Regions from separate parts of the Homo sapiens genome. Here region 1 is linked to region 2. Evidence: promoter capture Hi-C in human tissues and cell types (Jung and others, 2019). All regions are on one chromosome and are shown on one strand. The core of a region is centred on a gene start or on the middle of the fragment in contact, and the rest is flanking DNA. Distances in the headings are between cores, read along the strand shown.

Region 1 (7,217 bases), core at 2,333-4,832, 170 kb after region 2:
GCACACCCTGCCACGCCCGGCTAATTCTTTTGTATTTTTAGTAGCGACGGGGTTTCATGTTGGTCAGGCTGGTCTCAAACTCCTGACCTCAGATGATCCACCTGACTTAGCCTCCCAAAGTGTTGGGATTACAGGCGTGAGCCACCGCACCTGGCCAAGTCCCTTCTCTTTCACATTCACAGCTGCTCACTGCACACTGAGGTATACTGGGTCCCCAAGAACACTCAGCCCTGGGCCTGGACCTCAAGCATACAGAGCCTGACACAGGCACCCCTAACCTCCCTGGGGGCAGGGTCAAGGTGCAGAGAGGGCCACAGGACAAAGGGAGACTGGACTGGGGGAAGCAAGCTAGCGAGGAGAAGGGGGTTCCTGGAAGAGGGGACATTGGTTCTGGGCTTTGAAGCATGAGTAGGAGCTTCTAAAGCAGATGGAGTTGGGAGAAGGGAGGGTGCTTATGGCCAGATCACAGCAAGCATTCAGAGAATCCTATATAATCCACACATCTCTGGATATTGTCATGTTATCAGCAAGACCCTGCCTCCAAAGATACCTTCACTTTCATACCTTCCCTTCCTCTCCTTATAATGGGAGGAAGAGGCCGGATGCAGCGGCTCATGCCTGTAATCCCAGTACTTTGGGAGGCCGAGGCGGGTGGATCACCAGAGGTCAGGAGTTCGAGACTAGCCTGGCCAACATGGTGAAACCCCATCTCTACTGAAAATACAAAAAATTAGCTGGGCGTGGTGACGGGCACCTGTAATCCCAACTACTCGGGAGGCCGAGGCAGGAGAATCACTTGAACCTGGGAGCTGGAGGTTGCAGTGAGCTGAGATCGTGTCACTGCACTCCAGCCTGGGCAACAAGAACGAGACTCTGTCTCAAAAAAAAAAAAGAAAAGAAAAAAGAAAGAAAGAGGCCGGGCGCGGTGGCTCACGCCTGTAATTCCAGCACTTTGAGAGGCCGAGGCAGGTGGATCACGAGGACAGGAGATCAAGACCATCCTGGCTAACATGGTGAAACCCCGTCTCCACTAAAAATATAAAAATTTAGCCAGGCGTGGTGGTGGGCGCCTGTAGTCCCAGCTACTCCGGAGGCTGAGGCAGGACAATGGTGTGAACCCGGGAGGCGCAGCATGCAGTGAACCGAGATCAAGCCAGTGCACTCCAGCCTGGGCAACAGAATGAGACTCGGTCTCAATAAAAAAAATAAATAAATAAAAAATAAAAAAGAAAGAAAGAAAAGAAGAAAGAAAGAAAAAAAAGGAGGGATTCCTCAATGGGGCAGAGCAGAGACAAACAGCTAATAGTCACATTTTTTCTAAAGGGCAGACAAAAGATATTTTGCAAATAACTGAATACCACACACACTATCCAGATTATAAGGCCAGTTCTCCACTCAGAAGCCCTCACCTGTGACACCATACCTTCATTAGGGCATGCTGAGCAGCAGCCTTGCAGAGACCATCCTTGGTGGGTCTGAGGTCCCCAAGCTGCTAGGGACTGTCTCTGAGAGAGACATGAGTCCCTAGGTCATATGATGACTAGGAACTCAATGAAGGTGGGGTGGGGAGACCTAGAACTTTCATCCTGACCACTCAGTTCCCTGTCGGGGTCCCATCAGGGAATACCCTGGGTTTAGGTTTCTGTGTGGCTCTGAGCATGTTCCTCTCCTCTCCCTCTCTGTGCCTTGGTTATTCTATCTGATAAGCAAGAAGCTTGGGACAGACAAAATGTCTGTCCTTGGGGCCTTGGGGCTCTGTGCATTTACCCTTCAGCCTGGGATCAGCCCCGCCCTGTCTGAGCCTCAGTTTCCCCATCAGTAATTTGATCGTGATGGCCGAGGTGACCCTGCAAGCTGTCCTCACCCAAACAATGGGGCTCACTAGTAAAAGGTGTGGCCATCAATAATGGATGTCCTGTTACTACACAACTGGGGCCTTGGCCCCGATCACACTGCAGCTGAACCCTGGCCAGCTTGGGTTTCATAGCTCCAAGTTCATGGGTCGGGGCCCCTGGGCAATGGCCCCACAGGCCGAGTGATGATGTGGGATACTCATCTGTGCCCATCGTGCTGGGTCACGCCAGGGACCTGCAGCAGCCTTGGGCCACCTCCTCACACCCTCATCTTAATGCCAAGCCCACAACCCAGACTGGGCTCTGGACTTTGCACCTGGGCTCCCAGCCTCAAGTCCCAGTCTCAGGAGAATCTTTATCTTTCATTTTGTTTTTCTGAGGCAGAGTCTAGCTCTGTCACCCAGGCTGGAGCACAGTGGCGTGATCTCGGCTCACTGCAACCTCCACCTCCCAGGTTCAAGCAATTCTCCTGCCTCAGCCTCTTGAGTAGCTGGGATTACAGGCACCCACCACCTCGCCCAGCTGATTTTTGTATTATTAGCAGAGATGGGGTTTCACCATGTTGGCCAGGCTGATCTTAAACTCCTGACCTCAGGTGATCCACCCACCTTGTCCTCCCAAAGTGCTGGGATTACAGGCATGAGCCACCGCGCCCAGCCTCAGGAGAATCTTTCTAACGTGCTGATGGTCTCTCCCCTGCTCATGCATGCTCCATAGCTCCCTGCCACCCTTGGGAGAAAGCCCAAGCTCATCAGCCTAGAGACTGGGACAGTATGACAAGATGTGACTTGTCAGCTTCTCCATCTCTGCCTCTGTCCACTGACCACACCTGCCCCCCTTCCCCATTTGAGTCCCAACAAATTGGAAATACCAGTTGGGCATGGTGGCTCACACCTGTAATCCCAGCACTTTGGGAGGCTGAGGCAGGGGGATCGCTTGAGCCCAAGGGTTTAAGACCAGCCTGGGCAACATAGTGAGAGCCCCATCTCTATAAAAAAATACAAAAATGAGGTACATGTGGTGGCTCGCACCAGTGGTCCTAGCTACTCGAGAGGCTGAGGTGGGAGGATCACCTGACCTTGGGAGATCGAGCCTGCAATGAGCCATGATTGCACCACTGCACTCCAGCCCAGGCAATAGAGACAGACCCTGTCTCAAAAAAAAAGAAAAGAAGGAAGGAAGGAAGGAAGGGAGGGAGGGAGGGAGAGAGAGAGAGAAAAGAGAAAGAAAGAAAGAAAGACTACTTACACACACACACACACACACACACACACACACACACACACACACCAAATTGCAAATATCCTCCAGCAATGAATAGAAAGTTGTTTTTCCAGATCTTCTCTCCCTTCCTCCCTGGACTGACCTCATGATCTCCTTCCTTGTGAAAAATGTGCAGTCCTGTGGAGAGAGGTGTTGTCTTAACCCGAACCCTGCCTCTGGGGCCTCCTCCCACGGCCTCCTCCCTCCACCCCACACTCACACAGATGGCCTGATGCTGCCACACACAGAGCAGAACCAGGAACCCAGGCGGACGGTACACCCAGATGAAGGCATTCTGTTCCCATTTCCCAGACCACGGAACCAAAGTTGTCAAACCCACTGAGGACCCATCCTGCCCCCCTCTACCTGATACGCTTCCAGCTGCTCGTGTGTGAAGACTGTCTGCTTGTTGCCCATGGTGTGAACCACAGCCCAGACTTGGGGATGCACCCCAAAGGCTCCCAGCTTCCTCGGGGCCACACGGGTTGCCAGGCTGTTGTGTACCAGTGTCTGGGCAAATCTCCCTGCCCTGGCTGTCACCCACCCACCTACGCCATCACCCCCTGCTTGATGAGACTCAAATTACAGCCAGGCTCTCTGGACAACAGCCTGAATGTGTCCATGGGTAAGGATAAGGGCTGTGGGATGTCACAGAGAAGACCTCAGTGGGGAGGCCACATCTGCCACCACAAGGTGAGGCTGGGGTTATGGGGCACACTCAAGAGACAGGCAGGGTATACAGAAGGGCTATGGGCACACTGCAGCTCAAATCCCAGCTCTCTGCCCACTAGCTGTGTGGCCCTGGGCAAGTCACCTGACTTCTCTGAACCTCATTCATGAGATGAAAATTACATTATACCTACCTCATAGGGTCATTCTCAGGATCTGAGATTTAAAAAAAAAAAAAAAAGGTTTTGACTGGGCAAGGTGGCTCACACCTGTAATCCCAGCACTTTGGGAGGGCCAGGCAGGCGGATCACCTGAGGTCAGGAGTTCAAGACCAGCCTGGCCAACACGGCAAAACCCCATCTCTACTAAAAATACAAAAATTAGCTTGGCATTGTGACACATGCCTGTAATCCCAGCTACTCCAGAGACTGAGGCAGGAGAATTGCTTGAACCCAGGAGGTGGAGGTTGCAGTGAGCCGAGATCCCGCCATTGCACTCCAGACTGGGTGACAGAGTAAGACTCCATCTCCAAAAAAAAAAAAAAGGTTTTGGCTGGGCGAGGTGGCTCATACCTGTAATCCCAGCACTTTAGGAGGACAAAGCATGAGATTCACTTGAGGCCAGGAGTTCAAGATCAGCTTGGGCAGCATGGCAAGGCCCTATCTCTACTAAAAATACAAAAATTAGCTGGATGTGGTGGTGCATGCCTGTGGTCCCAGCTACTCAGGAGGCTGAGGTGGGAGGATTGCTTGAGCCCAGGAGTTTGAGGCTGCAGTGAGCCATGATTGCATCACTGCATTGGGAACATAATGGTGAACAAGCTAGATGAAGTTCTGGGGTGTGCATTGACATTATTATTTTATTACATTTTATTTTTTTGAGACAGTCTCACTCTGTTGCCCAGGCTGGAGTGCAGTGGTGTGATCTCGGTTCACTGCAATCTCTGCCTCCCAGGTTCAAGTGATTCTCCTGCCTCAGCATCCCAGGTAGCTGGGACCACAGGTGTCCACCATGCCAAGCTAATTTTTTTTGTATTTTTTTTTTTTGAGACGGAGTCTCGCTCTGTCACCCAGTCTAGGGTGCAGTGGCGTGATCTCGGCTCACTGCAAGCTCCACCTCCCGAGTTCAGGCCATTCTCCTGCCTCAGCCTCCCGAGTAGCTGGGATTATTACAGGCGCCCACCACCACGCCTGGCTAAGTTTTGTATTTTTAGTAGAGACAGAGTTTCACTATGTTGGCCAGGCTGGTCTCGAACTCCTGACCTCAGGTGATCCACCCGCCTCGGCCTCCCAAAGTGCTGGAATTACATGTGTGAGCCACCTCGCCCGGCCCAAAGGGCAGATCTAATGTAGCAGCTACCAACTTTATTAAGGCCCAGAATCCTCTTGGGTGGAGAATCTGAGAGTCTAAATTTCTTAGCCTGGCCCTCCATGCCCTTCTCACTTTGGGTCTCACCTGTGTTTTCTCTACCTGGCCTGGACTATTGCAATGTTTCCCAGCAGGCTTTCCTGCCTCGGCCTCATCAAGCATCCTCTGCCAAATCTGTGCAGTCATCTTGTAAAATGTGACCCTGATCAGGCTTGAAAGATGCCTCAAGGATGACTTTTTTTTTTTTTTGAGACAGGGTCTCACTCTGTCACCCAGGCTGGAGAGCAGTGATACAATCATGGCTCACTGCAGCGACCCTCCTTCCTCAGCCTCCCAGGTAGCTGGCACTAGAGGCACATGCTGCCACATCCGGCTAATTTTTTTTTTTTTGTATTTTTTGTGGAGACAGGGTCTGTCTATGTTGCCCAGGCTGGTCTTGAACACCTGGCCTCAAGTGATCTACCCACCTTAGCCTCCCAAAGTGCTGGGATTACAGGCATGAACCACCATGCCCAGCCATCCAAGAATAACTTTCAAAAAATAAACAATATCAAGTGTTGGTGAGGGTATGGAGCAACTGGAATGCTCATACATTGCTGGTGTTGATGCAAAATGGTATAGACACTCTGGAAAATAGGTTGGCTGGGTTTTTTTTAAATAGAATTAAACTTAACCTTACCACAAGATTCAGGGCCTGGTATGGTGGCTCATGCCTGTAATCCCAGCACTTTGGGAGGCCAAGGCAAGAGGACCACTTTAGCCCAGGAGTTGGAGACCAGCCTAGGCAACATGGTGAAGCCCCATCTCTACAAAAATACAAAAATTAGCCAGGTTTGGTGGTATCCAGCTACTTGGGAGGTTTGCTTGAGGTAGGGAGGTCGAGGATGAAGTGAGCTATGATCACTCCACTGTACTGCACTCCAGCCTGGGAGACAGAGTGAGATCCTGTCTCAAAAAAAAAAAAAAAAAAAGACTCCTGGGTGTTTACCCAAGGGAAATAAAAACCTATGTTCAACTGAGAGTGACCCCTAATGTAAACTATCCACTAACCACTGTGGGTGATAATGATGTATCAGTGTCAGTTCATCAATTGTAACAGACTAGCTACTGTCATGCACTTGCATGTGGAGGATGTTGATTGTAGGGGAAGCTATACAAGTATGAAAGCAGCAGGTGTACGGGAAATCTCTGTACCTTCTGATCAATTTTGCTGTGAAACTAAGACTGCTCTAAAAAAATAAAGTATAGTGTAAAAAAAAAATTTAAACTAGGTTCACACAAAAACCTGTCATGCCCACAGAATGGGACAAATGCTCAGTGCTCAAGTCATTTATATAAAATGGCATAATATTTGCATATAGCCTGTGCACATCTTCCATACACTTTATTTATTTATTTATTTATTTTTATTTTACTTTTTCGAGTTGGAGTCTGGCTCTGTCACCCAGGCTGGAGTGCAGTGGCGTAATCTCAGCCCACTGCAACCTCTGCCTCCTAGGTTCAAGCAATTCTCCTGCCTCAGCCTCCCTAGTAGCTGGGATTACAGGTGCACACCACTGTGTCCAGCTAATTTTTATATTTTTAGTAGAGACGGGGTTTTGCCATGTTGGCCAGGCTGGTCACAAACTCCTGACCTCAAGTGATCCGGCCCACCTTGGCCTCTCAAAATGCTGGGATTACATGGGCCACCATGCCCGGCCCTCCATAGACTTTAAATTATCTCTAAATTATGTATAATATCTAATGAAATATAAATGCTACATAAATAATTGTTACACATTTTTATTTGTATTCTTTTTATTGTTGTATTATTTTTATTTTATTGGTTCCAGGTATTTTCACTCCGTGGTTTATTGAATCCATGGATAAGGAAACTGGATATGAAGGGCTAACTGTATTTGTGAATCATATATCTCATAAGGAACTACTATTCAGAATATATAAAGAACTCTCAGGGCCGGGCGCACGCCTGTAATCCCAGCACTTTGGGAGAATGAGGTGGGTGGATCACCTGAGGTCAGGAGTTAGAGACCAGCCTGGCCAACATAGTGAAACCCTGTCTCT
Region 2 (6,961 bases), core at 4,052-6,551:
CTCCCTTCCCCTGTCAAATCTTCAGGAACAGTTGAGATGATGTACCTTGGTGCCACATAAACAAGGTTAGAAATCCTGCTCCACTATTCCAACCTCGATTATTAGCTAGGTAAACTTGGGCAAGCTCCCTAATCTCTTAGACCCACTGTTTCATCATCTACACTGAGGCAGAAATAATCTCTCATTCACAGAGTTGTTAAAAGTAAATTAGTCAATATATACTTGTTATCAATGAGTGGGAACATGGCATTGTTTCTGGCCAATAGGGGGCATACTCAACAAATGTTGGATTTCCTCACCTGCATTGTTATAAATTGATTACAAGAATTTATTACACTATCCCTATGTTGGGAGAGGTAGTCCTCCATGTGCCCTGAGTATCCTTTCTGGGTATGCCAAGAATGTAAGACACTGATATTCTTAACTGGAGCCATTTCTGAGAGTTGTGTTTGCAGAGAACAGCCTTGAGGGATGAGGTAATGACTCCCTTTTGACACTTATCAGGCTTGCTATAAAAGCAGATCTCCTAAGCCTACTGCTCCATCCCTGTAATGCAATATACTATGTCAGCAAGCATCAGTAGAAGCCCACCTGTGTTGCCCCATGGGATTTGGGTGGCTTGGAGAAAAAAGCAAACCAACAAGAAACACATGCTCCTTGCTGTGCTATGAGTAATAAATCATGCTTTGTCTCTTACCCACAAATCTCTGTCTTCTGGCAGAATCCATGAAACCATAACAAGATAACTTATCAATTTGCAATTTTTAAAAAAATTCTAGAGATGTCACGAAGCCCTTGCCCAAATTCTTCATTTGCCCCCCATATCCATACCCTTTGAAATGTGATTTTTTCAGTGACTTCCATTAAGAGACCGAGCATTTTTTACTACCCACCACTTTTTGATTCTCTGTTGGACTTTTGGCTTTCTCTGACAAAACACAATGTGAAATTGATGAGGTAATAACTAATGAATCTAACCTGCCTCGTCTCACTCCCTGGAACCCTCTCTGCCATGTGAACCATGGGGTGCCTTCTGGAGGGATAGAATCCCTGGAGGAAAGTCCAGGAGTCCCAGCTGAGGACATCTGTGTCAATTTGAAACCAGACAAAACCCAAACGTTTGAGAGAACTGAGCCAAGACCAGCAAGGCTGCCTACCTGACCCACAGCTTCTCATGTGCCATGAATATCTCTTGCACATCCAGAAGAACCCACTGATATGGTTTGGCTGTGTCCCCACCCAAACTTGAATTATAGTTCCCATAATCCCTATTTGTCTTGGGAGACACCTGGTGGGAGGCAATTTAATCCTGGTGGTGATTACCTTCATGGTGTTCTCATGGTAGTGAGGGAGTTCTTACAAGATCTGATGGTTTTATAAAGGGCTTTTCCCCCTTTTGCTCAGCCCTTCCTCTTGCTGCTGCCATGTGAAGAAGGACGTGTTTGCTTCCCCTTCCACCATGATTGTAAGTTTCCTGAGGCCTTTCCAGCCCTGCAGAACTGTGAGTCAATTGAACCTCTTTCTTTTATAAATTACCTAGTCTTGGATATGTCTTTATTAGCAGCATGAGAATGGACTAATATAGTAAATTGGTAGAGTGAGGTGCTGCTGTTAACATACCCAAAAATGTGGAAGTGACTTTGAAACTGGGTAACAGGCAGAGGTTGGAACAGTTTGGAGGGCTCAGAAGACAGGAAAATGTGGAAAAGTTTGGAACTTCCTAGAGACTTGTTGAATGGCTTTGACCAAAATGCTGATAGTGATATGGACAATGAAGTCCAGGCTAAGGTGGTCTCAGATGGAGGTGAGGAAGTTGTTGAGAACTGGAATAAAGGTGATTCTTGCTATGCTTTAGCAAAGAGATTGACAGCACTTTGCTTCTGCCCTAGAGATCTGTGAAACTTTGAACTTGAGAAAGATGATTTAGGGTATCTGGCAGAAGAAATTTCTAAGCATCAAAGCATTCAAGAGGAAGCAGAGAAAAAAAGTTTGAAAAATTTTCAGCCTGATGATGCAATAGAAAAGAAAAACCCATTTTCTGGGGAGAAATTCGAGCCTGCTGCAGAAATTCACAGAAGTAACAAGGAGCCAAATGTTAATCACCAAGACAATGGGGAAAATTACTCCAGGGCATGTCAGAGACCTTAGTGGCAGCCCCTCCCATCACAGGCCCAGAGTCCTAGGAGGAAAAAATGGTTACTTGGGCCAGGCCCAGGGCCCCTTTGCTGTGTGCAACCTAAGGACTTGGTGTCCTGCATCCCAGCTGCTCCAGCCATGGCAAGTGGCCAAGGTACATGACTTCAGCGGATGCAAGTCCCAAGCTTTGGCAGCTTCCACGTGGCGTTGAGCCTGTGGGTGCACAGAAGTCAAGAATTGAGGTTTAGGAACCTCGGCCTAGATTTCAGAGGATGTACGGAAATGCCTGATATTCAGGCAGAAGTTTGCTGCAAGCGTGAGGCCCTCATGGAGAACCTCTGGTAGGGCTATATGGAAGGGAAACGTGGGGTGCAAGCCCCCACACGTAGTCCCTATTGGGGCACTGCCTAGTGGAGCTGTGAGAAGAGGGCCACTCAATATCCCAAAATGGTAGATCCACTGACAGCTTGCACTGTGCACCTGGAAAAGCAACTGACACTCAACACCAGCTTGTGAAAGCAGCTAGAAGGGGGCTTGTACCCTGCAAAGCCACAGGAGTGGAGCTGCCCAAGGTCATGGGAGCCCACCTCTTGTATCAGCATGAACTGAATGTGAGACATGGAGTCGAAGGAGTTCATTTTGGAACTTTAAGGTTTAATGACTCCCCTACTGCATTTTGGACTTACATGGGGCTAGTAGCCCTTTTGTTTTGGACAAGTTCTCCCATTTGGAATGGTGTATTTACCAAATGTCTGTACCCCCATTGTATCTAGGAAGTAACTAACTTGTTTTTGATTCTACAGGCTCATAGGAGGAAAGGAATTGCCTCATCTCAGATGAAACTTTACACTGTGGACTTTTGAGTTAATGCTGAGATGAATTAAGACTTTGAGGGACTGTTTGGAAGGTGTGATTGGTGTTGAAGTGTGAGGACATGAGATTTAGGAGGGGGCAGGGATAGAAGATGTGGTTTGGCTGTGTCCCCACCCAAATCTCATATTCATTTGTAGCTCCCATAATTCCCAAGTGTCATGGAAGGGACCAAGTGGAAGATAATTGAATCATGGGGGTGAGTATTTCCCATGATGTTCTCATGATAGTGAATAAGCCTCTCAAGATCTGATGGTTTTATAAAGGGGGAGTTCCCCTGCATACACTCTCTTGCCTGCCACCATGTAAGACATGACTTTGCTTCTCATTCACCTTCCACCATGATAGTGAGGCCTCCCCATCCATGTGGAACTGTGAGTCAATTAAACCTCTTTCCTTTTTAAAGTACTCAGTCTCAGGTATGTCTTTATCAGCAGCATGAGAACAGACTAATATACCAGCCACCTGTCTCATAGACTTGTTAGCAATCATAAAACCTTATTGTTTTAAACCAATGAGTTCTCAAGTTGTTTCTTACTCAGCAACAGCTACTATACAATTGTCATCATGACCCTCTTGAGTTTACAAGAGGAAATATAGAAACAGACACTTTCTGGGCACCTACTATGCACCAGGGATATGACTCCATTACATCACCTTGACCATCTTTTAAGTAGGGATTATTATACCCATTTTACAGCTGAGGAAACCAAAGCTCAGAGAGGAAAAGCAATGCTGAATGCCACCCAGCAGAGCCAAAATTCCAGACCAGATCTGTCTGTGGTGCCTCCACCCCAAGGCTTCAGCTGGAACTCTGGGTTCAAAGAATTCACGTGCATGATATTCACACTGTCAGTGAAAAACTTCATATAGGGCTTCAGCATGTTGAAATGGAAGGCGGGCATCAGCATCTGACGGTGGCAGCTCCACTTGTCACTGGCATTTACCAGGAGCCCATCCCCTAGTAGAGGCAGTCAAGGGCCATGGGCAAGGGTATCTCCCTCTTCTTACCCATCCCCCAAGGTTTTTCCCACCCTTGTTCACCTACAGGTACTCACCCAGCCAGGGCTTCAGGAACTTGTAGAAGGCCTCGTCTTTTGGTGCAATGGTGGCTGACATGAATGAGGACCATCAGAAACCATGGAAAGGGTGAGGGAGGGACTTTGGGTGTGGGGTGAGGCTCCAAGCCAGAGACCACACTTACTCCCTCAAAGCGCAGCATAGTAGAAACATGTGACATGGCCCCGATATGTGTTAACATGTCCTGACATGGTCACAAAATACACAACAAGCCCTAGCATGCTATGCTGTGCTCTAACAAGGATCTTAGACACTCTGAAATGACCTTAGCATGCCCTATAGGCAGGCCCCAGTTAGGATTCAGATTTAAATATGGTCCCTTTAATATCCCAGAAATAGCCCATGTCTGGTCCCAAATGTTCCATAGTCATGACTCAAATATACCCTGAAGCCTGTCTCAAACAATACTCAAACAATGTCTCAGAATGTTTACACACAGACCCTGGGTTCCAGACATGAGGCACATCCCTGGGATCATATGGAGATGGTTATGTCTAGGGCTCAGCTGTGGCCAAGAGTATTTGGGGTATGTGGGGTTTGTCTGCGATTCTGTTTGAGATAGTCTTTTTCTTCTGCTGGTGACGTCTGGGCCATGTTTGGGATGCGCCTCACGTTTGGGCAAGGGTAGGGCTCCAGGCTCGGGTGGCGTCTCCTACTGGAGATTCCTAGGGCCTGGAGCAGGAGGGCAATGAGCATATAGTGGAAGAACCACAGGATGGGGTAGAAGGAACCGACCCACAGAGGTGAATGTCATGAAAATAGCAGTCCAGATCCTCCACCAACTGCATGTCCTCCTCATTGTTCTGGGCTTGGGGACATGCAAGGTGATGCCAGGCCTGGCAGGAGGTCTTGAATTCTAATGTTGCCCATTGCATCGCTTCATCCCCCACTTTAAAACATTCCTACTCATTGTTAGAAACCCAGCTCCAGCAACTTCTCTTCCAGGAAGCCTTCCAGCCTGCCCCAGGAGAGACCAGGTTCTCCTCTGGGCTCTCCCAGCCCATCTCCTTCTGGACCACTCCTGACCCCATGACTTTGGGGATGTCTCTGCCCAGATCCATCTCCTCAAGCTTGGGAGATCCTTCCAGGACAGAGCCTTGGGTTGAGGCCTCATGGGGCTCCAGTAGTGCACAGAACGCCGGGGTGGTGGGGGGATGGCAGTAGTGGGAGGAGACGCTGAGATGGGGGTTGGTGAATACATGAAGGAAAGAGAAGATGGCTGAGGGTGAAGCAAGAAGGAAGGGCCTGGATACTGCAGCGGCCACACAGAAGCTTGGGGGAGGAGGGGCTTGCAGGCCTCAGATGCACCACGGCATTCACCACCAGGTGTTTCAGATGGTACCTGAGGCATTGATGACAGACCAGATGATGTTGGGGTGGCACAACCTGATGATGGGAGTAATGGGGTTCATCCAGATCTTAAAGCCCTGGGGGTAAGTGGCCACCAGCTGAGTCAGAACTCTCATGCCCTCCTTCATGTGGGGACCTGCAAGCAAGGCAGGGGCCTGTAATCCCAGCTACTCGGGATGCTGAGACACAAGAATCTCTTGAACCCAGGAGGCGGAGGTTGCAGTGAGCCGAGATCACGCTACTGCACTCCAGCCTGGGCAACACAGCAAGACTCCGTCTCAAAAAAAAAAAAAAAAGAAAAGAAAAGGAGGCCATCCTAGCACCATGCATGGAGTCCAGTTCTTTGGATAAGTATGCCACTGGGCAATGTTATGACCCTATAACTTGAGTCAGAACTCCTATAGCCATTTCTTTTTGTTCATGAACATATAGAAAGAAAGGCTTAGTTATGTCTGGTAGTCCTAAAGCTGGGGCCCAAGTTAAAGCTTCCTTGATCTGTTCAAATGCTATTTCTTGATTAGTCTTCGAAAGGAGGGGCTGTTTTTCTCCTATCTTTGTGGCTTCATATAATGGTTTAGCCATTAATGAAAAATTTGGAATCCAAATATGGCAAAATCCTGCTGCCTCTAAAAATTATCGTATTTGACACCGGGTGGTTGGGGTTGGGAGTGCACAAATGGCCTGCTTCTGTTTATAGCCAAGCTGGTGTTCTCTGTGGCTTACTATGAAACTTAGATATTTAACTTTTTCATGGCAAATTTGGGCTTTCTTTTTAGATACTTTGTAACTTGTTTTCCATAAAAGATGGAGGAGGTCCTGGGTTCCTTGGTAATAATCCTCTCGGGTTGGGGCTGCCAAAAGAAGGTCGTCCACGTACTGAAACAAGGCACAGTTATCATTTGGCAGGGTATAGGCCTTGAGGTTTGAGGCCAGTGCTTCCTCAAAGATTGTAAGAGAGTTTTTGAACCCTTGTGGGAGCTTAGTCCAGGTGAGCTGTGTAGCTTCCTTGTCCTATTGAAATGCAAAAATGGGCTGACTAACTGGTGCCAGTCAGATACAGAAGAAGGCATCTTTTAAGTCTAAGACCGTAAACCAAGTGGCAACTTGCTGGAATAAGTCCCATTAAAGTATATAGGTTTGGTACTACTAGGTGGATAGCCACTGTGGCCCTGTTTCTAGCCCGCAAGTCTTGCACTGGTCTATACACATTAGACCCTGGTCCTGGTGTCGGCTTTCATGCTGGCAAAAGTGGAGTATTCCGGGGAGACTGGCATCGGACTAAGATCCTGTGTTTATAGAGCCAGTCTAAATGCTTACAAATGCCTCAAATAGCCTCTCAGGGGACCGGGTACTGACGAACTCGAACCAGAGTTGCTCCTGGTTTCAGTTTAACTACTACTGGTGGATGATTTACAGCCAGCCTAGGTGGGTTATCTTCAGCCTATACCTTAGGAATTTTATTAACTAGTCCAAATAATAATTTTTCTTCTTTCCGTGTATGAAGCTGCACTGGCGCCTGCAGTTT

Evidence for each region. The method cuts DNA at HindIII sites, captures the fragments that hold promoters and counts their contacts. A contact is called where the count stands out against the background at its distance.
Region 1: the fragment with the promoter of CIB3 here is called in contact with a fragment that was not itself captured in region 2 in 1 of the 25 tissues and cell types used here (liver).

The regions. Positions count from the first base shown.
Region 1 is chr19:16,169,943-16,177,159 of GRCh38, forward strand. It overlaps CIB3 (calcium and integrin binding family member 3), which reads right to left and starts at 3,583. Exons shown (of 6, transcript NM_054113.4): 1 at 3,483-3,583; 2 at 3,220-3,254. The coding sequence starts at 3,533. The HindIII fragment of the contact is 31,728 bases long and covers 1-7,217 here.
Region 2 is chr19:15,993,464-16,000,424 of GRCh38, forward strand. It overlaps the pseudogene LOC124900424 and the pseudogene CYP4F9P. Among named protein-coding and RNA genes, the nearest start is that of LINC00661, 19 kb to the right of the region's middle. The HindIII fragment of the contact is 3,126 bases long and covers 3,739-6,864 here.